Linked DNA regions of Homo sapiens: all the other regions are linked to region 2. Evidence: promoter capture Hi-C in 16 types of primary human blood cells and fetal thymus (Javierre and others, 2016). All regions are on one chromosome and are shown on one strand. The core of a region is centred on a gene start or on the middle of the fragment in contact, and the rest is flanking DNA. Distances in the headings are between cores, read along the strand shown.

What was found. The method cuts DNA at HindIII sites, captures the fragments that hold promoters and counts their contacts. A CHiCAGO score of 5 or more calls a contact.
Region 1: a fragment that was not itself captured here is called in contact with the fragment with the promoter of KRT78 in region 2 in 1 of 17 cell types (naive CD4 T cells); the score reaches 5.7 in naive CD4 T cells.
Region 3: a fragment that was not itself captured here is called in contact with the fragment with the promoter of KRT78 in region 2 in 12 of 17 cell types (naive CD4 T cells, M1 macrophages, endothelial precursors and 9 more); the score reaches 12.8 in naive CD4 T cells.
Region 4: a contact is called between a fragment that was not itself captured here and the fragment with the promoter of KRT78 in region 2, in 3 of 17 cell types (naive CD8 T cells, non-activated CD4 T cells and erythroblasts). The highest score is 6.1, in naive CD8 T cells.

What each region holds. Positions count from the first base shown.
Region 1 is chr12:52,523,032-52,528,209 of GRCh38, forward strand. No RefSeq gene overlaps it. Among named protein-coding and RNA genes, the nearest start is that of KRT5, 5.2 kb to the left of the region's middle. RefSeq lists an enhancer at 1-235. The HindIII fragment of the contact is 2,626 bases long and covers 2,184-4,809 here.
Region 2 is chr12:52,844,894-52,850,243 of GRCh38, forward strand. It overlaps KRT78 (keratin 78), which reads right to left and starts at 4,101. Exons shown (of 9, transcript NM_173352.4): 1 at 3,654-4,101; 2 at 3,014-3,228; 3 at 1,871-1,931; 4 at 1,304-1,399. The coding sequence starts at 4,037. The HindIII fragment of the contact is 13,226 bases long and covers 1-5,350 here.
Region 3 is chr12:52,588,540-52,593,835 of GRCh38, forward strand. KRT72 (keratin 72) reads right to left here. Exons shown (of 9, transcript NM_080747.3): 3 at 4,353-4,413; 4 at 3,857-3,952; 5 at 2,925-3,089; 6 at 2,297-2,422. Among named protein-coding and RNA genes, the nearest start is that of KRT72, 10 kb to the right of the region's middle. RefSeq lists an enhancer at 873-1,042. The HindIII fragment of the contact is 1,084 bases long and covers 987-2,070 here.
Region 4 is chr12:52,542,733-52,547,898 of GRCh38, forward strand. It overlaps KRT71 (keratin 71), which reads right to left. Exons shown (of 9, transcript NM_033448.3): 6 at 5,125-5,166; 7 at 3,554-3,774; 8 at 2,833-2,867; 9 at 1,177-2,011. The coding sequence ends at 1,800. Among named protein-coding and RNA genes, the nearest start is that of KRT71, 7.8 kb to the right of the region's middle. RefSeq lists an enhancer at 4,933-5,166. The HindIII fragment of the contact is 271 bases long and covers 2,721-2,991 here.

The sequences.
Region 1 (5,178 bases), core at 2,247-4,746, 320 kb before region 2:
TGCCCTGACCTCTCTCGCAGAGCTGTGCAGGGAATGTAGGACCTGGTCAGCATTTCATACATGGAGAAGCCCTTCACAGACACCAGGGAGAGGGTGGTATCCATTCGTGGAACAAGGGTTAGGCAAATCCTGCCATCCCAGCCCAGGATTCCTTCTCCTCAGAGCCTCCACTCCAATCTGTAGGGCTTTAGTAGAAGATACATTTAATAGAGCATGATAAATAGAACATGTTCCATAAAACAGCATTTGTACATATCCTCTAAGTCCCCCCCAGCAGGGCAGTCTCCAAGGTTAGGGAACATCTCTGCATGGCCCACACCCTCAGCCCAGCCTTGGGCACTGGAAGTGTTCTGCAGATATTTTTTGGAGTGAATTGACAGACAGAAAATCCTCTTCCTCCGCTCCTTCCCCAGATTGTTATGTGAAGCCCACAATGGCAAGAACCTCAATTGCTTTTGCACCAACCTATATCTACACCAACCTATGTATAACAGAATGTATATACATTATATATATTCACATATATTTCTGTGAATCCTCCAGCCCTATGCTGAGTCTCAGAGTCTTGTCCATCTGATTTTGTCTCTCAGTCCGTGTCTACAGGATGAGTCTGTTGTCCCCTTCACACTGGGTATGCTCTGTGTTTAGGATTTAGGATTTAATCTAGCATTTAGGATTCTTTATTCCTTAGGCTTCCCTCCATCCTTCTTCTTCCCTCACCCTTATTCTGAGGGTGTTCTGCATCTGAGCCCACTAACAAGTAGCCTGCACGTGCCACCCCAGCCCCCAGGCCCCTCCAGGAGAGAAAGAAAGCTTTAGTGGCCTCAACTTTGCAGCCCTTCCACCTCACGCTTGTTCAGCACAAAAAGTGGGGAGCAATAGTTGAGGTGTGAGTCACCCTATTCATTGGGCTATGGTTGGCAGCCCCATCAGGGAGCCTGCAGCCAGATTCGCAGGATGGGGAAGGGCAGATGGAACAGCGGGCCAGCCCAAGATAGCTCTTCACAAAGCCCTAGCCTCAGGGGGAATTGAGGGAAGAATTTTCCTGCCTCCACCCAAAGCCAGCGGAATCTTGCCCCCATCCCAACCTGGGTCCCAGCTCTGGTCCTAGCTAGATTCTCAGAATCACAGGGCCCTGAGGGGAGTGGCCACTCTGGATCTGCAGAGCTGGACACACCACCCCCTCCCTCCTACAGCCCAATGTCTCTAGGGCTTTCAGACCCCAGTCTGAAAACCGGACTAGGTAGAAAGGCAAATGTCCAGACATAAAGCAACTGCTCAGCCTTGGCTCAGAGGGCCTTTGGAGGTGAGTCCCTGCTGCCATTATTGAGGTCATAGTGACAAGTTACCCCCTGGAGTTGAGTTTTTCTTGTGCACGGGCTTCGCACACATTGTGGGTCACAGCATAGGTGCAAAAGCATGTGGCACCACTCCAGACCATGTGTTGGTCCTGACCCAGTCCTTGGATGGGTCTGGGACCCTGAGCAAGTTGCCTAACCTCTCACTGCATAGTTTTGTCCAGTGCAGCTGGGAGAGAAGGGAGGGGCCTGGGCTCATTGGAGGGGCCATGCAAGCTGGAATTTTAATTTTGAGCTGGCTGGGGCTGAGCAGGAAGGGAGGGGCAGGCCTGCAGGGGGCTGTGGGGAGCAGCCTTGGCCCCCATCCCTTAGATTCAGCAGCCGATTGGCCCTGGCAGGAGAGGGTGCAGAGCAGAGCCCTCCGCTTCCCTCCAGCAGGCCCCTGCAAGTCTGAGGAATGTTCTTCCCTCGTATGAAAGGTGTTTTGCTCATGGCACACCAAACTCTTTGAAAATCCCCCTTGGTTGATTGAAACTATGGGCTGGAAATCAACAAATACTTTAATTAGTCAGAGGGACTAAAAAAGGATATACAGCAAAATCCTCTGCGCTTTGCTTTCTCATAGAGGGTGGTTTTATTTTTTAAATAAACACTTACGTAGGAGTGACCATGTGCCAGGCACTGCCCTGCACACTTTACATATATGAATATGAAACTAGAGCATGCAAAGAAGGGCTCTTAGCACTTCCTCAGCTTGGCTGTCCAATGTAGGTGTCAGTGTGTCCCATACTCTGGGGATTTGCAGCCTCCCTCTTCAGTGGAGAGGCAGAGACATGACTCATTTACACCAGGTTGTATCCCTGCAGCATCAGAGGTGCAGAAGGAAGCTTGCTGACATCCCCAACTCACCCACTGTTCCATTTCTCCCTGCTACTTTCTGTTCTCTCACCAGTAGCCACAACTGGGAACGGGGAGGCAGAGGAGACGCTACAGCTGCCCCCCTCCCCAAGTTTGTGTTTGGCTCAGGGCTTCCTGGTCCTGGGAGGGAGGGCAAGTGCCGGAGACAGAGCCTTATTCCATCTGGCTTTCCTGCTTTGGGTGAGCACTGATCATGGGTGGGGGGAAGGTGGGGTGAGTCAGGTGAGCTCTGATCATGGGTGGAGGGCAGGTGGGGTGAATCAGTACAGAAGGTGGTAATATGGTGAGGGAGAAAAGAAAGTAAATGACAGCATTGAGGCTGGAGCTGTTGCCTCTCCCAGGGCCACCCTCAGGAAATGCACTCGGCATCTGCACAGTCCTCAAGGCCATGGGACACCTTGCTGGCCCCAGTCCCACCGTCTATGTGAGACTGTGACCCTGTGTCCTTCCCCATTTCCTCCCTCAGACTCCAGGACACACTCGCAGCTCCCATCTTCATGTTCCGTGAGCACATGTGAACACTGACCTGCTCACTGTCCACTTGGACCAACGATCACTGTTGAGGGTTTGTGAAAACAGGTTAAGGCTTCTTCCAAGGGAGACGCAGTGCAAAAAGCAACTGAGACAAGAGAGCGTGCAGGAGTGTTTCAATTCATGCCAGTCATTGAATCAGGTCCTGTTCCACATGTGTGACTTGGCCAAGGCAGATGCCATGCACTGGACTTCTGGACTCTGGTTGTGTGACCCTGTACCCTTCCCCATTTCCTCCCTCAGACTCCAGGACTGCGAACAGGGCTGGGTCTCCTCTAGGATCTCCTTACCAGACCCAGGATGGTGGCCCACACCACTTGACAGTGACGGGTCACTGTGCAAGGGCCGGGTTAGGGAAGCTGGCCTGACTTGGTTTCAGAGAAAAAAACCAGCCCAGTGATCCATCCATAGAGGAACAGGCTGAGTTCAGGGAGGTGGAGCCTAACGCCAAGCCCTTGGCAAGGTGAGGTGAGAGCCAAGCCTGGGTCCTGGTCCTGTCCCACACGCTGTTGTTGCCCTGCACTGCCCATCTGGGCCTCAGCAAGAGCCTACTTGTCTCCCAGTCCAAGGCTGCACGTCTCAGTCCTCTTCAGAGAGCCATTTCCCGAGGGCTGTGTGCATGACAGGGCTGACAGGTGACTGTGATGGGTGAGGGTGTTTTTACTGCTCCCCACCCCTCCCCTGTCCAGAGCCCTCATGTCCAGGTGCTGGTCTGGGTCTTTCCAGGGAGCAGACTGGCCTTCAAGCCTAAGTTAGCACCGAAGCCTGTTCCTCCAAGGCATTTGTCTGCTCTAGGCCATGAGGTCCCACCAGTCTGCAGACGCTGATCGCCTCTACTCCAGTGGCTGATAATAAGGAGTTAGAATTCACACATGACTCCCTCTGCCCGTGCCCAGAGCCTCACAGTACTTAGCTGGGCCTCCAGTCAAACCCACATCCTCTGTAACAGTTGTCAAGGACTCCCACTATTTCTTGCTCATTCACAAGTCCCTGGTCCCCAGGGCCTTTCGGCCTCACCTCCACTCTCCAGCCAGGTGGATCCCTTCACAGCCTCAACCCCATGTCGGCCGGTTCCCGATTTAATGTTAGAGGGTCAGTGCTCAGTGCTGGTTCTGCCTGCTCCCTCCCTCCCTACACTGTGCCTCCCCACTCCCATCTTCTCTGGCACAAAACGTGAAACAAGGACCCAGATGCCTTCTCTGGCAGTCTCTTGCAAATGGGGGAGATGTGGAGATGTATCTGACGATTTCTAGGCAGCTTGTCTCTCTGAAGTTCTGGACTTTCATGATCCCCAAAAAGCTCACAGCATGGGATGAGCCTGAGCCCTCGATGTGCTCTGTGGCTTGGTGAAAGATGACAGCAATCACCACACTTGAGTGGCACTGACTGTGAGCCAGGCATGGTTCTGGATGTATCAACTCATTTACTCCTCACAGCCTCGTGGGGTGGGCCTAATATGATCCCTGTTTTGCAGATGAGGAAACTGATGCCCTGAGAGGGTAAGCAACTGGCAAGTGACAGAGCCTAGGTAAGAGCCCAGGCAAGGGTGTCTCCAAAAGCCCTTGTCATCACCATTGTGGGCACTTGGATTTTCAGTGCAGGACTTGTGATTTGACTCTGAAGAGGATGACTTCAGCAGAGGCCTCAACCTCCGGATAGTCTGTGAAGGCAGCAAACAGAGAGGGCCCCAGATACCACTCAGCAGTCAGTATACCATAACATCTTCCAGCAGCCCCAAGAGAGAGGGACCCCTGCCCTGGAGTATAGACAGGGGAGGTGCCCTTGGAGACCCCCTCCCTTCTCTGAACTGCCAGAACCCAGGGCAGGACCACTAAGACTCTGGGGCAAGACTCAGGGGATTGGGGTTCCCTATAAAATCCTATACAATGTCCTCAAGGGGGAAGCCTGGGGATCGCCTGACACCCATCTCCCTCCTACCCTGGCACTAGGCCCAGGGCAAAGCCCAGATGCTTCCTGGGGCAGTCCTTCCAGATGCATGAGACGTGGCTAACAACTGCTGATACTTCCTAATACCTTGGGAGTAGCCCAGTGTCTTGGCCCAAGCTTCAGCGATTCGCTCTATTCCTCCCCTCTCCAAACCCCACAACCGCTTATGGCCAAGACACTCAAACAGGGCCCTGCAACACTTTGTTCAGGATGAGCAGAGGCCATGATCAGGAGAGTATGAAATGGAATAACCCAGCCTGAGCATTATTTGGCATTTTGGATCCTTTGGGATGGGCCAAACCACCCTGTGGCCTCTTAGAGACTGACCAGCTCCTTGCATGAGGCTGCCCCACTTAGAAAAGAAATTAGCACCATTCACTGAGATATGTAGCCTCGTTGCTTTTGGTGATACTGGACCTGATTTCCTCCAGCCCTTCTTTGAAGTGAATGGATACTGAGTGCTTACTGTGTGCCTGACATTGTG
Region 2 (5,350 bases), core at 2,851-5,350:
AATGAGAGCCATAGGAGGTGGTCTCTGAAGTCTCTTGCAGCTTGGACATTAATGGAAAATGGCCTGCAAGGCCCAAAATCACCCAGCCCCCATCACTCCTCAGGCCTCTTTTTTTTTTCTTCTTCTTCTTTTTTTTTTTTAAGATGGAGTCTTACTCTGTTGCCCAGGCTGGAGTGCAGTGGTGTGATCTCGGCTCACTGTAACCTCTGCCTTCCAGGTTCAAGCCATTCTTCTCCCTCAGCCTCCCTAGTAGCTGGGATTACAAGCACCTGCCACCAAGCCTGGCTAATTTTTGTGTTTTTGTAGCGACAGCGTTTCACTAGGCTGGTCTCGAACTCCTGACCTCAGGTGATCCACCTGCCTCAGCCTCCCAAAGTGCTGGGATTATAGGCATGAGCCACCGTGCCCAGCCATCTTCAGACCTCTTATCATACTCCTCTCCCTCTCGCTCCTACTACTCTGGCCACACCGACCTTCCTGCATTTCCTCAGACAGCACACTCCCGCTGTGGGCTGCAGCCACTGCCTGGAATCCCAGAAACCCACCTGCGTGGTGACCTTCCTCACCTCCTCCAAATCTTTGCTCAGATTTTATCTCCTAAATAAGGCCTACCCTGGCCACATGATTTGAAGTTGGCACCTGCTCCATGTTCCCAATCCTCCTTTCTCTGTTCTCATTTTCCTTTTTTCCATTGCGTTTATCACCTTCTTCCATACTATATGATTTCCTTATTTACTAAGTCTGTTGCTTATTGTCTGTCTCCCAATAGAAAGCAAACTTAGTCGGGCGTGGTGGCTCATGCCTGTAATCCCAGCACTTTGGGAGGCCGAGGCGGGTGGATCATGAGGTCAGGAGTTCAAGACCAGCCTAGCTAAGATGGTGAAACCCCATCTCTACTAAAAATACAAAAATTAGCTGACCGCAGTGGCGGGTGCCTGTAATCCCACCTACTTGGGAAGCTGAGGCAGAGAATTGCTTGAAGCCGGGAGGCAGAGGTTGCAGTGAGCTGAGATTGCACCACTGCACTCCAGCCTGGGCAACTGAGCAAGATTCCATCTCAAAAAAAAAAAAAAGCAATTTTTTTATCTGTAGTGATTTTTTTCTGGTTATTCATTGATGTATCCCCAGGACCTAGCAATTCACATAGTAAGTTTTCAGTAATTGGTTGTCAAGTGACTGAATGACCCAGAATCTAAGCCACCCTAACAGACTTCCCCTCTTGGCCATTCTCCTCATGGCCACAGGAAGCCTGCCCACCCAGTCCTCTCTCTTGGCTGCAGCCTGCCCTTTGGTTGAGCCTCACTTCTTCATTCAGATGCTTCAAGAAGTAGAGGTACTCTCTCAGAGCCTCCAGCTTGCCCTCCAACTCCATCTTGCTCAGGAAAACCCCATCCACATCCTGGAGACAAGGGGAGAGAGAACACGTAACCCCCTCTTCCTCTTTGGGGTCCCTACTCTGGCTCAGGAATTCTGTTCATGCACTGCTCAACACCCATCCACCATGCCTCCCAAGACCCCCTCCTTCCTCCTCCAGCCCCACTCTGTCCTGCTCTCTCCTTTGCCCAACATTGACCCAACATCACCTTCAGGAAGTCTTCCCTGATTAATCACAACCAGTTCTGCTTCTTCCTCTCCCTCCCCGCCCTCTCCTGCAGTGACATCAAGAGCTCGTCAAGCAGTCCTTTAGTCAGATCTTGCCTTGGGGCCCCTGTGTCTAGGCAGATGTCCCATTTTCCCAGGGGACCCCTGCAGGTAGAGTGATAGCCTGTCCTAAATCAGGACCTCCCACCTTTTCCCTCCCAGCCTAGGACTAGGCTCCGTGCACAGTGGATGCTCAGAACGTAAGTGGAGCACTGGCCCCCACCCTCACCTTCTTGAGGACCACAAAGTCGTTCTCAAGTGTGGCACGCCTGTGGGCCTCCTCCTCATACCTGCCAAATAAGTAGAGAAGGATGCAGTTTGAGGCTCCACGGTCAGAGCTCATGCCCCCATGTCCGAGCATGACCTCCCTGAAAAGGACTCCTTGCCTTAGAATGCCCCCAAACAAGACAATAACCAGCCCTTCTCTCCTTTCCTGCCACGTCCTAGCTATGTACCTGTGCCACCCTTTCAGCCCATGTCCTTTTGATGACGACAGCCACATTGTTTCAGTTTATAAGGCACATTCGAATACCTTTTCCCACTTGCTACTCACACCCATCACTTGAGGTAGGCAGTTTGGGTTTTATCAGAGAGATTAGATGATTTGACCAAGACCCCACAGATGACTAGGTAGACAAAGCAGAGCCAGCCCAGGTCTTCTGACCCCAATCCAGGGCTCCTTCCAGAACCTTCCTTCCTCCACCTCACATCCCATTATCCCAATAGCCCTGGGAGGCCAGAAGGGCAGGTGACATTTCCCAAGTTTACAGAAGGGAAACCAAGTCCGGGAGAGATGAGATGCCTTGCCCAGGATGCACAGCTACCCCTCACTCACAGTTGCCCCAACCCAAGCCCCCTATTAGTCCAGGGCTCTCTCCACTCCACCAGGTGACCTAGGCGTGGAGCCCAGAACCACAGCCCATCTGTGAATTGTGTCACAGGCCTGGGGACAGCCCCACTAAATTGATTCCCTTCCCTCTTTGGAACCAGAGAACATCTGAATCACTTTAGCCCACAGCCCGCTGAACAGGAATTTCTCAAGAATAAAAAAAGCCACTGGGGCATTGTTTAAATAAGCCCTTCCCAGCCTTGACCGGAAACATGGGCCCTTGTAGCTGGGGCATGTAGGACACCGGTCTCCCTGCCTTTCCTCCAAGGTTCTCCAGATCTGCTTGGGGACTGCGGGACACCTCGTTTACCTGTAGCAGGTGGGCACCTGAGAGCCTGGGGAATGGGGACGCGGAGGGGTAGAGGGGAGGCCAGTCATGTGCCTCTGGGTGCTCAGTATGTGGGACACCTCCTGGCTGACAGACCCAAACTGAGTCATCCCAGACCCCGCCCACATGGCATGGGGAAATTTCAGTGTGCCTACTTGGACTTATACTCCTCCTCCTGGTCCCGGCAGGCCTTCAACTCAGCATCCAGAGCCCCTCGTTCTCCCTGGAGCTGCTCCAGCTGCTTCCTGAGCTGATCCAGGCAGGCCTCAAAGACAGGCTCCAGGCCCTGCTGGCTGCCACTCAACCCCTGTTGCTGCAGCAGATGCCACTTCGTCTCCAGGACCTTGTTCTGCTGCTCCAGGAACCGCACCTGCAGCAAAAGCAGAGGATCCCTGAGGCTCCTGTGGGACTCCCTGTGCACAGCCTCTGGAAAGTAAAGCCTGAGGGACCCTCCCATCAGCCTCACCTTTCCCCTGTCCCCCTGCCCAACCTGGGCAGGGGAAGCCTCATGACCTTCCATGACACTCTGAACACAACAAAATGACTGGACTGACTAATGGGGCAGGGCCTTCCCCCCGCTGGCTGGCAGTTCTCTGTCCCTGAGCCCCAATCATGGAACAACAGGGCCTCAGCATAGCCAGAGAGAGTCCAGTTAGTCCACAGGAGGGACTTCTTTGCTGCAGAAGTTATTAGAAAAGTGGTAGAAGGAGGCCAAACTTCCCATTTCCAAGTCCATCAAGAGCAGCTCCTCCAAGGGAGGCACAGAGACAGGGGCTTGGCTGAGTTGACCCTCACCTTGTCAATGAAGGAAGCAAACTGGTTGTTGAGGGTTCTGATCTCCTGGGTCTCCTGCGTCCGCACCACCTGGAACTGGGGATCGATCTCAATCTTCAGTGGGGTCAGCAGATTCTGGTTGATGGTCACTTCTTGGATGCCCCCCGGAGGGCACAGGGAGAGCCCAGGCCCACCACTCCACTCCCCAAACCGCACCCCCAGCCTACCCCCTGACCCCCAGGTACTCCCACGAGAGCCTTCCAGGCACCCCCCAAAGGAATTAAGGCTCCTGCTGCTGAAGCCGCCCCTGCTGCTGAAGCCTCCCCTGCTGCGGCCCCTTGAGCGAGCAGAACAGGCTGAGCGAGCGCTGAAGCCCCTCTGGGCCCGGCATGGGGAGAGAGACATGGCAGAGACAGACAGTCACGCAGCTGCAGACGGACAGACAGATTGTCAAGGTGTGTGAGTTTCTGCCCTGGGGCCCCAGCACGAGACTTTTATCCACTCCCGTACCTGGGCTGGGCCTTGGAGAGCAAGATACTCTTGACCTGACTGTGTCTGTCACTTGGCTCCAGCTGACTTACTCTGACGTGCCTGGAGAATAAGTGTCCGGCACGTGCAGAGCCAAGGGAGAAGGAAACCCAGACCCTGCCCTCAGAGCTCCCAGGCTGTTGGAGAAATAGGCATGCCCAAAGACAAGGAAGCAGGCAGGAGACTGGGATGTCAGTGCTGAGGGACAGGGAGGGATGGCCGGAGCAAAGTCACTGAGGCCCTCAGGGAAGGCTTCCTGAAGGAGACAGGGAAGCGAGAGGAGGTTGAAGAGGAAAGAACGCTAGAAGGGGTTCAGAGGAAGCATCAGAGTGCCCTGGATTCTCAAGGGAGAATCTGCCTCAAGGAGTTGGAGAAGGAAGGCACTTGCAGCGCCACAAAGAGAGGAGGTTAGTGGAGGTGTTATTGCCATAGTTGGCTAAAAGACACTCCAGGATTTGGAAATGAAACAGAAAAACAGGGTTTCCAAGTCCTTCCTCTTGCCCAACCCAGCAATCATCCATGAGGCACCACCCACTGAAATCAGGCATCTCCATCCAGGATCGCATGGGACAGCACGTTTCTGACCCAGCCTGTGGCTCTGCTCCTTCCACAAGCACTTGGGGCCAGGCCCATCCACCTGCCATCAGGCTCCGCTTCCTGAGGTTACAAATCAGAGCCACCCAGGCTCTGAAATGAAATGTGCATTTAGGGCCGGGCACAGTGGCTCACGCCTGTAATCCCAGCACTTTGGAAGACCGAGGTGGGTGGGTCACTGGAGGTCAGGAGTTTGAGACCAGCCTGACCAACATGGTGAAACCCCATCTCTACTAAAAATACAAAAATTGGCCAGGTGTGATGGTGCACACCTGTAATCCCAGCTACATATGAGGCTGAGGCAGGAGAATTGCTTGAACCCAGGAGGCAGAGGTTGAGCAGTGAGCCAAGATCGTACCACTGCACTCCAGCCTGGGCAACAGAGTGAGACTCCATCTCAAAAAAAAAAGCAAGGTGCATTTAGAAAATACTCCTAAGCTGGGAACGGTGGCTCACGCTTGTAATCCCAGCACTTTGGGAGGCCTAGGCGGGTGGATCACGAAGTCAGGAGATCGAGACCATCCTGGCTAACACGGTAAAACCCCGTCTCTTAAAAATACAAAAAATTAGCCAGGCGTGGTGGCAGGCACCTGTAA
Region 3 (5,296 bases), core at 279-2,778, 260 kb before region 2:
AAAAATAGCTAATGCATGCTGTGCTCAAGATGCATGGTTGATAGGTGATGGGTTGATAGGTGCAGCAAACCACCATGGCACACGTTTACCTATGTAACAAACCTGCACATCCCGTACATGTACCCTAGAACTTAAAACCAAAACTAAAATTAAAAATAAATAAATAAATAAAATAGACTGGGCACAGTGGCTCATGCCTGTAATCCCAGCACTTTGGGAGGCCAAGGCAGGTGGATCACCTGAGGTCAGGAGTTCAAGACCAGCTGGCCAACATGATGAAACCTCGTCTCTACTAAAAACACAAAAATTAGCCGGGAGTGATGGCACGCAGCTGCCTGTGGTCCCAGCTACTCGAGAGGCTGAGGCAGGAGAGTCACTTGAACCCAGGAGACAGAGGTTGCAGTGAGCCCAGATTGTGCCACAGAACTCCAGCCTGGGTGACAGAGGGAGAATCCATCTCAAATATATATATATATATTAATTAATTAATTAATTAAAGAAGATAGCTTTGCATAACTGCAGCTGGGGCTGTGTGCTTGCACTTATGTGAAAGCCCCCAGGGGGCTTCCTGAGCCCTTCAGTCTGGTATATGTTCCCTCAGCTAAGGTTTTGGTGGGAGCTGAGGTTTTCTTTCTGGGGTATGCCCATCTGTGGAGCCACATTTGCTTCACACCAAGGAAAGCAGCTGATCCAAGGCCAAATGGGCTCTAGAATATTGTCCAGCTGCCACCATCCTCCTCTGCTGGGCAGGCCCACAGCAGTGCCAATGCCCTCGTATTTTGGATGAGTGGCTCACAGCCTCAAGGAGATGCCTAGGACCCAGCCTTCTAACCACAGAAAACCCTGCCCCACCCTTGGGACTGTAGAAGTTTTAATCATTCATGGAGTGGCCACACACACTGTCACCTGAACTCATCAAACTGTCTTCTGTTCTTTTTTACTGACCAAGATCCCACACAGTGAACCTGGGGCAGAGGGACACCAAAAGCTTGGGTCTTGTGAACATGGCCCGAGTTGAGAGGACTTGAAATTTTAGCATCCTTTGAAACAAATGTCACATGAATGCTGAGGACACCAAATGCCAAGGAACTCTGCATGTGACATGGTGGCCTTCTTTGATGGAGGAGGCCAGAAGGGCAGGAAGCACCTTAGCTGAGGGCCCTCAAAAGGAGCCGCAATGGGGACTCAGCATTGCGAGGGATCCCCATTTGTTCCCCGCAGAGGGTATCTTCCCTGACCACCAAAGCAAGTCAGTTTCTGGTAATAACTTCGTCCAACCATAAACACATAGCATTTCATTAGTTAAACACTGTAGTAGAATACTGAGGGTAGCTTCAAACATCTGCGTTTTTTCTGCACTTATATAGCTCTTGATTAAACAAAAACAACTTAAGTTATTTAATGCTGGTCTTTCTTCTTCCCACTACCATGAGCACAGAGGAGTAGTGCGTGTGTGTGTGTCTGTGTGTGTGTGTGTACATGTGTAAGCATGCACCATGCGTGGTGAGAGATGGGGTGCAGGGGAGGGTAAGGAGATGGGACAACTTGACTTGCCTGGGAGCTGAGAGCCTTAAACCCTTGCACTGCTTTCACAAACTTGAGGACTCATGGGTTTGCTTGCTTTAGAGCCACAGATGTGGTTGCACGGGTACTACCTCCCAAAGAGGGGGACCTCGGTGCAGTGTCCTCCCCACAGCACAGCACTAGTGCAGGAAGGCCCCACGCTAGTGCAGGGCCCTGAGCCCGATCTGGGTTGTGGGGGCTGTGCCTCCTCCATTTTGTTCTAAAATCTCCTGCTGGATTCTCTCTCCTCCCACAAGGTATCATCATGGGAAACCTTCAAATGGCTCCCTTTTACCTCCTGCGTTAGGTCTAAACCCCAAGGCTTACCTATTCCTACCCAGTGGTGTACCCTGCTCCCTGCCACCCCTGCTGAGCAGCGAGCTGCCTGCCCCAGATAGGCAAGCCCACCTGCACACGTGCTGTGCACATCACTACCTAGGCCCATTGCTCCTGCGGGCTCCTTCACCTGCTCCTTCCCCTCTCCTGGTGTAATCCTACCTCCTGCAAAGCTTCCCTGGGGTCCTCATTCACCTCTCACCCCTCTGGGCTCCTGTAACACTTACCTACAGTGTGTAGGCTGCTTTATCCCTCCATATCTGTTCAGATCATCCTCTCCTGGTAAATTAGAGGAGGCCCTAAGGAGGGCACTGTGTTTTACCCTTTCTTCATATTCTGTCTGGCCCAGATTGTGACTCAATAAATACTGTTAGTGGATTAATTTCATAGAACCCACCTGCTTCTTCACATTCCCTATCTCTGAGCGGATCCTCTGGATCAGGCGGTTGAGCTCAGAGATTTCAGCCTTGGTGAGCTTGAGGTCATCCCCATGCTGGCCTGCTGTGACCTGCAGCTCCTGGATCTGAGGTTGGGTGACAAGAGAAGAGGAACACAAGGATCCTACTGAACTAGGGCAGGTCCCTTTTCTTCTGGACAGAAAGGATCCTGCCCTAGTTCAACAAGATCCTCAGGTTCTCAAACATGAGAGCCTTGGCAGAGTGTGAATTTCCTATCCTCATTTTGCCAAAGTGGAAACATGAAGATAAGACAATATATGTGAATTACCCATAGAAACTGTGTCAGAATCCTATCAGGGTTGTAGCTGGTGTGGCCTCAGCCAAGGGCCGTGATAGGAGAAGGGCTAAGCCCCATATATGTCCGCAAAACAAGCCAAGACTGTAGTTAATCTCCCTTACCCCTGGGGTGGCATTTCCGCAAGGCCCAACTTCAAGACAAAGGAGGTCTTGACTGAGCCCAAATACACACACACACACAAACACACGCACACACACGTACACATGCACACATACTGAGAGGGTGCTAGCTGTGGCCAGTGGGACTCAGCACACCTGGCACCAGCTCACCTTGGTCTGGTACAGGGTCTCAGCCTCGGCCTTGCTCTTTAGGGCAATCTCCTCGTACTGGGCACGGACCTCGGCAATGATGCTGTCCAGGTCCAGATCCCGGTTGTTGTCCATTGACAGGACGATGGACGTGTCGCTGATGTGGGACTGGATCTGAGTGATCTCCTGGGGACGGTTGGGGGAGGGGAGCTAGTTAAGGGGTACTCATGAGGAACCAGTTCTCTTGGTCCTCCCTGGGCAAATTCCTCACTGTCCCTCTGCCTTTCCTCAGCGTTTGAACTCTGCCTCAGCACCAGTGCCTGGCAGGCACGTGAAGAAGTGCCTTAGGCTTTCAGCCCCAAACGCTGAGACTCCTCTCTCCATTGCACACTCAGGAGCACTCCTGCACCCTTCTACATTCTCATCCTCAGAAACCAGCCACCGCCACCCTCCACCCATAGGACCAAGTCTGAACTCTTTACCTAGCATGTGAAGTCCCCTAGGGAGTCACTAGCACCAGTCCCTTCCCCAGGCCTCTGCGCCCTTCTTCATTCCTCATGCTTTAGCACAGGACAGGCTCCTGGACCTTCTATTTTTCTGCCCCCCTCAGCACCCACTGAAATCGTCCTCTTTCTCCTCTCTCTCCAAGAACCTTCACTGATGGCCCAGGCAGAACCCACCATTCCTTCCTCTGCTCTCTGAAAGCTCAGCTACGTGGTGTTTTCCTGCCAAGCTGTGAACTCCTGGAGGGCAAGAATCACTTCTTCTCTTTCACGGACTCCTCAAAACCTAGCTCATTGTTCAGCACCCAGTAGGGCCTTGGTGAATGTCAGGGGCACCAGGTTGAAAGCTTTCTCCCTCCCAATTCTTGGTCCACACCACCTTCCAGCCAGGGGCCAGAAACCTCTTGTTAAAGGAGCAGATCTCACAAGAGAGGTCAGCCAAGTCCTTACCCCTTCATAAAGGCACTTGAAGAATTTAATCTCATCTGTCAAGGAGTCCACCTTGGCCTGGAGCTCAACCTTATTCATGTAAGCAGCATCCACGTCCTGGGAGCACATGATAGTCAAGCCGCCCTGAGAGGGCCTCCCCTGCCCATCCCTCCCTCCCTGCCACAGGAAGCCTTGCTCTTTCCTCTCCCTTCACCCTGTGCTTCATGGGGGGCTCCCTGAGAGTCCCCTTCAGTCCCTGAGAGTAAACCAACTAACGTGCAGTGCAATGGCTACACCAGTAGTGCAGTAAAATGCCCAGATTTTAGACTGGCAAATTCTAGAAACAGCATGCATCCCAGGCAAGGGACTTGGAGGGAGGGGCTGGGAAGTTAGAGTGCCAGTCACCCCTGCCCAAGGGACTGAGTGACCTACAGGGCCCCTTTCCTCACCCTACAAGCATCATTGTGCCAGGTGGTCAGGTCTAGGCTTCTTCCAGCCCACCTGGCACCCCTCTTACCTTCTTGAGCACCACAAACTCATTCTCAGCAGCTGTGCGTCTGTTAATCTCCACCTCATACCTGCATGGGGCAAGACAATGAGGTAATTCAGTTCTGCAAACACTCACTGAACAGTTAGTGACCACCTCTGTGCTGAGAGCTGCAGGGTGGGGGTCTTCAAACTGGGATTCCCATACCCCTGGGGCACACATAACCTTGCTTAAGAGGATGCAGGCAAGGACATAGTTAAAGGAATCAATTTCCAGCTCCTTTGTGCCTGTGCATTCTGTCTTAAAACTACCTGCCTCAGAGAGCACCTGTGGTTGAGATGTCATGCAGACTCTACTGTCCCTCTCCCTGTCACAATTAGCCCCTCCCACATTATAGCAGAGGTGAAAAGACACTCCCTTCTGGCACATGGCATCTTAATACTGTGCAATGGCTCAGGGTGCAAAAACCTCCTAGGCACCAAACAAAAGCACCATTCTCACTTTCAAACTGTATGTTATACCTATTTCTTATACATATTTCTGTTCCAGGTGAAGCAGAAACAGAAGCAAGGTCTAAGACACAGAAATGTGGTTAGGACTGGGATGTTCTTAATACAGACATATTGTTGATTGGGGAGGTAAGAGTACTAACCATTTTATTTAAAGAGCTTACCTCTTCCATCCCTTATTATTCTCAAAGAATGCATTACAGGACATTTGTGAGAGTATGGTAACGAAATAGAGCATTGGTAAGAAATAATTAATGCTAAATGGATAAGCAAAATGTGGTGTATACATACAATGGGATATCATTCAGACTTAGAAAGAAAAAAAATTCTACAATATGCTACGACATGGATGAACCTTGAGGACCTTTTGCTAAGTGAAAGAAGCCAATCACAAAAAAGACAAATATTCCAAAAGACAAATGATCTCATTCATGTGAGATACTTAGAGTAGTCTAAGTCAGAGAC
Region 4 (5,166 bases), core at 1,606-4,105, 300 kb before region 2:
CACACACACACATGCCTCATCTTATCAATCAAGGACGCAAACATGTTGTTGAGTCTTATTCCACTTACCCACCTGCTAGATGACGGTGCTGACAGGTTGATGACAGCCAGGAGTCTCCGGCTCTGACCATCTCCTGGGCAGGGGCTTTTGAGCCTTGCCCTAAGCCCCAGTCACTACTCTAAATGTCCTAGATGTCAACTCAGACCATCCGTCCCTTCCTCCGGACCCTCTGTCTTCCTCTTCCATTATACTTGGTCTTCTTGCCCCAAACCTTCATCCTCTGATCCCCCTCCAGCCCAGCCCCAATACCAGGCCTCCCTGCTCCTTTATGAAACTGAAACCCTCTTCCTTCCCCCAGATGACGTCATTAGTGTGGCTACTGTGAGACTAGGTCGCTGCCCACTCACTGCAAAGACGTTGGCTTCCCACCCACCTGCAAATGCCCTGAGCCTCCTACACCTCCCCTCCCCACCCAAGACACAGAGCTGGCCTAGGGAATCTGTCTGTTCACTCTCCTTACACCCCTTACCAAGGCAGGACTGGCCATCACCATAGTGGTTCTGGAAGGTGGGATAGGAGTATGTCTGGGGCAGTGCCAACCCCCCAGTCACTGAAATTCATAGCCCACCCCCACCCCATGGTGGGACCCCAGCTCACTCCTCCCTACACCAGCCCCAACTTCCAAGACTTGTTACTTATCTTTCCATCTGAGAAGCCAAGAGTGTGGGACTCCCACCTGCTGACCCCCGCAGGAGGCCAGGCCTCTGAGCGGTGAGAAAAGGGCTGGACAAATGCAAATACCTGTGCACTAAGCCCACCTTCCAACGAGGAAAGGTGCAGTCTCAGAAAGAGGCAAGGTCAGGTCAGGAACACGACCATTTCTCTGTCACTGGACACAGTTTGTGCATGTCCATCTGCTGAAGCCTCCAGCCAGTACATGCACACGCTTTCTGGGCTTCTCCTTTCCTCCCTCCCTGCCCCTCCTCCCAGACCCTGCTCCACACCCCATTTGCCTCCTGAAAATTAACACAGACATATAGGCTGCATGGGCAATACACAGTGATGTACTTGTGTGTGTGTGTTTGTGCTTCATGCATTCATGAATGTACATGGTGCGCGCTCATGTGAGTGAATTGAGGTGCATGTGCATACTTTGAATACTCAGAGACCAAGCCATGAGATTGTGCTGTTTATTGAGGTTGCAACAGAGGAAGGCCATTAAGAATAAAGGAAAAGTGAACAGTGCCTGCTTTTCTCTGCTTCTGGGTGCAGGTGAGTGGAGAAAAAGGCCCTGAATTGCACTTGGTCCCACTCAGATTTGAGACTGAGCTAGATGTGGGGGTGGGGACTGGGCCACTCTTGGTTGTTTGTCCTTCAGTCCTCCTTTTCTTAAACACAGAGCCAGCTCCTGGCATAGGCAGGAACTATGCTAGGTCCCAGTGTGTGCGGGGCCTTGGGCAGAGACCCAGGGAGCCCAGCAGAGTAGTTAGCGACTGCGCTAGAGGCCGGGCAGAGGAGGAAAGCTGGCAGCCAGGACCTGGGCTGGTGGTGTAGCTGGGGGACCACAGCCAAGGAGTTAATAGGGTGTGTACAGGGAGGAATTTCACCAAGCTTGGTCATCCAGGCCTTCCCAGGATCAGGAAGACACAGGCTGGGAGAAGTGGGTGGCCAAGGCCAGTGCCAGGTGTATGGGAGCAGGACCAGCAGGGTGGAGATGGAGCTGAGAGTGGGCTGTGGGAAGTACAGTGTGGGATCCAGAGCCGGGTCATGGAATGAGGCGGGGCCCGGGGCAGTCTTCTCTACCGACTGGTTTTCTTGGAGGGTGCACTCAGGCTGGAACCCTTCCCTAGGGTGTCTTTGTAATCGTTGGCACTGCCCCGGCTCCTGCCCTCCCCGCCTCTCACGCTGCACACTCCAGAGATGCAGTTGCTGCTGTTGGCCACATAGCCACCGCTGACCATGCTGGGCCGGAAGCCATAGACACTGCCGCCACTGGTGCTGCTGATGATGGCTGCAGGAGGAGCCGAAGCCAACACCCACTCAGGCAGAGAGCTGGGGAGGCCTCCTTTTCCCCAGGGCAGACAGGGCTTTTCTTGGAGAAGCTGAGTGGGGAGGTGCACACCCGCTCCCTCTCCCTGGGGAGAATGTACCAAAGACAGCTTCCCTAATGCTCTGTCCTTGGCTTGTTCGGCTTATATCCAATCTGGCTGAGTCTTGCCCCATTAATGCTCAGAGGCCCTACTCCTTGGTCCAGGTACCAATACCCCTACCTGTCCTCCTGGACACCCACCCATTGCCCTTTCTATTAGCCTTTTTGCTAAACTTCCCAGCCTCTAACCTCTTCCTCCTGCTAGCTGTCCCACAGCAGGCATCTTTCCCAAGCTCTGGTTTAACTCTTTTAGCCCTGCTAAGCAATGCAGTGATCTGATACTGCCAGCTTGACCTCTAAGATCCCTCATTCTCTCATTCCCTCAGCCCTCCCTACTTCCCAAGCCCAAGTCTGGTTGCAGTTTGCAAACCTGACTCCCTAAGCCTCACACAGACCCATGCATCATTTTTCTACAACATAACCCTTGCTTTCCCATGACAATAGCTTTCCATTGCTGCCATCCCCTAGGAACAGAAAGTCAGAGGGATAAGAATAAAGGAGGCCTGGCCTGGGAGTCAGGAAAGCCGATTTTGGCCATGGCTCTGCCATCTGGCTTTGTGATCTCAGGCAAAGCTTTTCCCTCTCTGGTTCTTAGATCCCTCATCTGCACACAGAGGGTGTCACTAAGGTCCTTTCCAGGCTGCAGATTTTACAATTTTAGGTGAAAGTATACAAATACTTACAGATGCTGACAGGGGAGGGAAATTCTCCTGACATCCTATTAAGGAGAGAAATAAAATAAGAGGAGAAGAGAAGTCATCCAGCTCAGTCTCTTTAAAGCTACTGCCACCATCAGCCTTATGTGGGTTTTTGGACCCAACAGGCACCTGTGGAAATTCCAAAGCTTCTCTGATGCAAGCAGAGCCTGAGAAGTTTTGGAGACTACCCCCAAATCTTTGGGGTAACCAGACAACAACCCTAGTCAAACAATAGTTTACAAAAGGTGCACACGTAGGGGCAGTGTATCTACCTCCCACGTGTCAGGTCCACACACCAGCCTGCCATCCCTGTAGAGCCCTGGGGAAGCTGGGGTGGCTGCCCCGGCACACCCCCAACAAGCTGCACATGGACAGATCAGGAAGAGGGAACAAGAATGCCTAATAGAGTAATGGGGTTTTGCAGGGAGCAGGGCGGTGGTTGTTTCTAGTATGCCCAGGAAGAACGAGCAAATCTGCATAGCTTACTACATAGCATAGTGCCTGCCATGAAGCAAGCTCTCACAGTCTACTGAGTGGATACTCATGTCCACTCATGGTAGTATTGTTAATTACTGTGATTATTTCTATCCTCATCACCCCATCACTTCCTAAGAACTCATCTCTTCTGGATTGAGATGTGTTAGGCTTTCTCCTTTGGGTCTTCCCAAACCCCTGGGGCCCTCCTGTCTGGGCACGCCCCGCCCACCTGCACTCCTCGCTCTCCAGTAGCTTGCGATAGGTGGCGATCTCCATGTCCAGGGCCAGCTTCAGGCTCATGAGCTCCTGGTACTCGCGCAGCATCCGCGCCAGCTCCTCCTTGGCCTGGTGCAGGGCGCCCTCCAGCTCGTCCAGCTTGGCCCGGGCATCCTTCAGGGCGTTGTCTCCCCGCTGCTCAGCATCAGCGATGGCTGTCTCCAGGTTGGAAGCCTAAGGAAGGAATTGGTGAAGTCGAAAAATTTGGAGGAGCCACTGCAACCATCCACATCCAATCCCTCTGGGTCCTTAGAGTGGGGCAGAGTGGCCCGCCTCCACCCTACACACACCATCACACTTCCTTGCAGCAGAGCCCCTTCTGGGGCTGGCACCTCCCTCCTTAGCTCTAGCCCCATTCCCTGTGTTGGATGTGTGGGTGATGGAAATCATGCAGCCATGCCCTCCTGAGCGCCACTTTAGTTCAGCATAGAGACATTTATTCAGCCATATTGTGCCAAGGGCACGAAATGAATGACAGCAATACTCTTGAGTTGTTTAGGTCTGGGAGGAGAGATGGTCGAATATGCTGTGGCAGACGCAAAGGCAGCAGCTGCCCAGGAACAGGGCACCACAGTCGAGGGGGACAGGGAAGGACACACCCCGGGAGCAACCGTTATTTGCCAAGCACTTAGTGTATGCCAGCACCAGGCTCAATACTGTACATACCATTGACATAACTTAACGCATTTAGTCCTTGCAACACCCTGTGAAGTGAGCAGAAGTAACCTGTCCAAGATCACAAAGCAACTAAGTGTTAAAGCCCACAAAAGAATAGAAGGAGCACTGGACTAGGAGTCAGGAGACCTTGGTTCAGATCACAGCTCTGCCACTTACCAGCTGTGTAACCCCCTTATCCTCTCTGAGCCTCAGTTTCCTCATCTGTAACAACAGCGAGGGCAACTGTTGCCTCTCAGGGTCTTGGTGAGGATGAAGTGCGATAGAAGAATAGGTGCCGCTGCCATTGCTATCGTATATGTACATCTTGTGTCTCACCTACAAGCCGAGGCTGCATCCTATATTCCTGGGAGTAGTCCCTAGTCAATCCTTAACAATGCACCTTAATGGGTGCTCCCTGAGCCCATTTCTCCATCTCAGTCATTAACTCCACAGATGTTTATCAAGCTGCAACTATGTGCCAGGCACTGTGCTAGATGCTGGGGAAACAGGGTACAAAGCAGCCAGCTCCCTGCCCCCTTTCAGTCTAGTGGCAGTGTCAGTAATAACAGGAAGTGTGACAAATACAGGGAAGCACAGGTGCCAGGAGGGTACATCGCTGGGGGAAGGTCTTAGCCCAGTGCCGAGGAGGCTTTCTAAGGAGGGGCTTCGAGGCTGAGGTCCTTGGAGTGAGTCAGAGATGAGTAGCCCCCAGGGACGTCCTGCTCCAGGTGTTTGAGGCAGCGACCTCACTGGCCTTCTCTCTTCTCCCAGGCAGCGATCTGGGAGGCCCATGTTCTCAGCAGCTCATCTCCCCTCTACTCATGCTCCCCTGCACTTGACCACAGGCCAAGGCCAACGTGCTCTCACCTGCTTCTTCACGTTCTCGATCTCTGAGCGGATTCTCTGGAT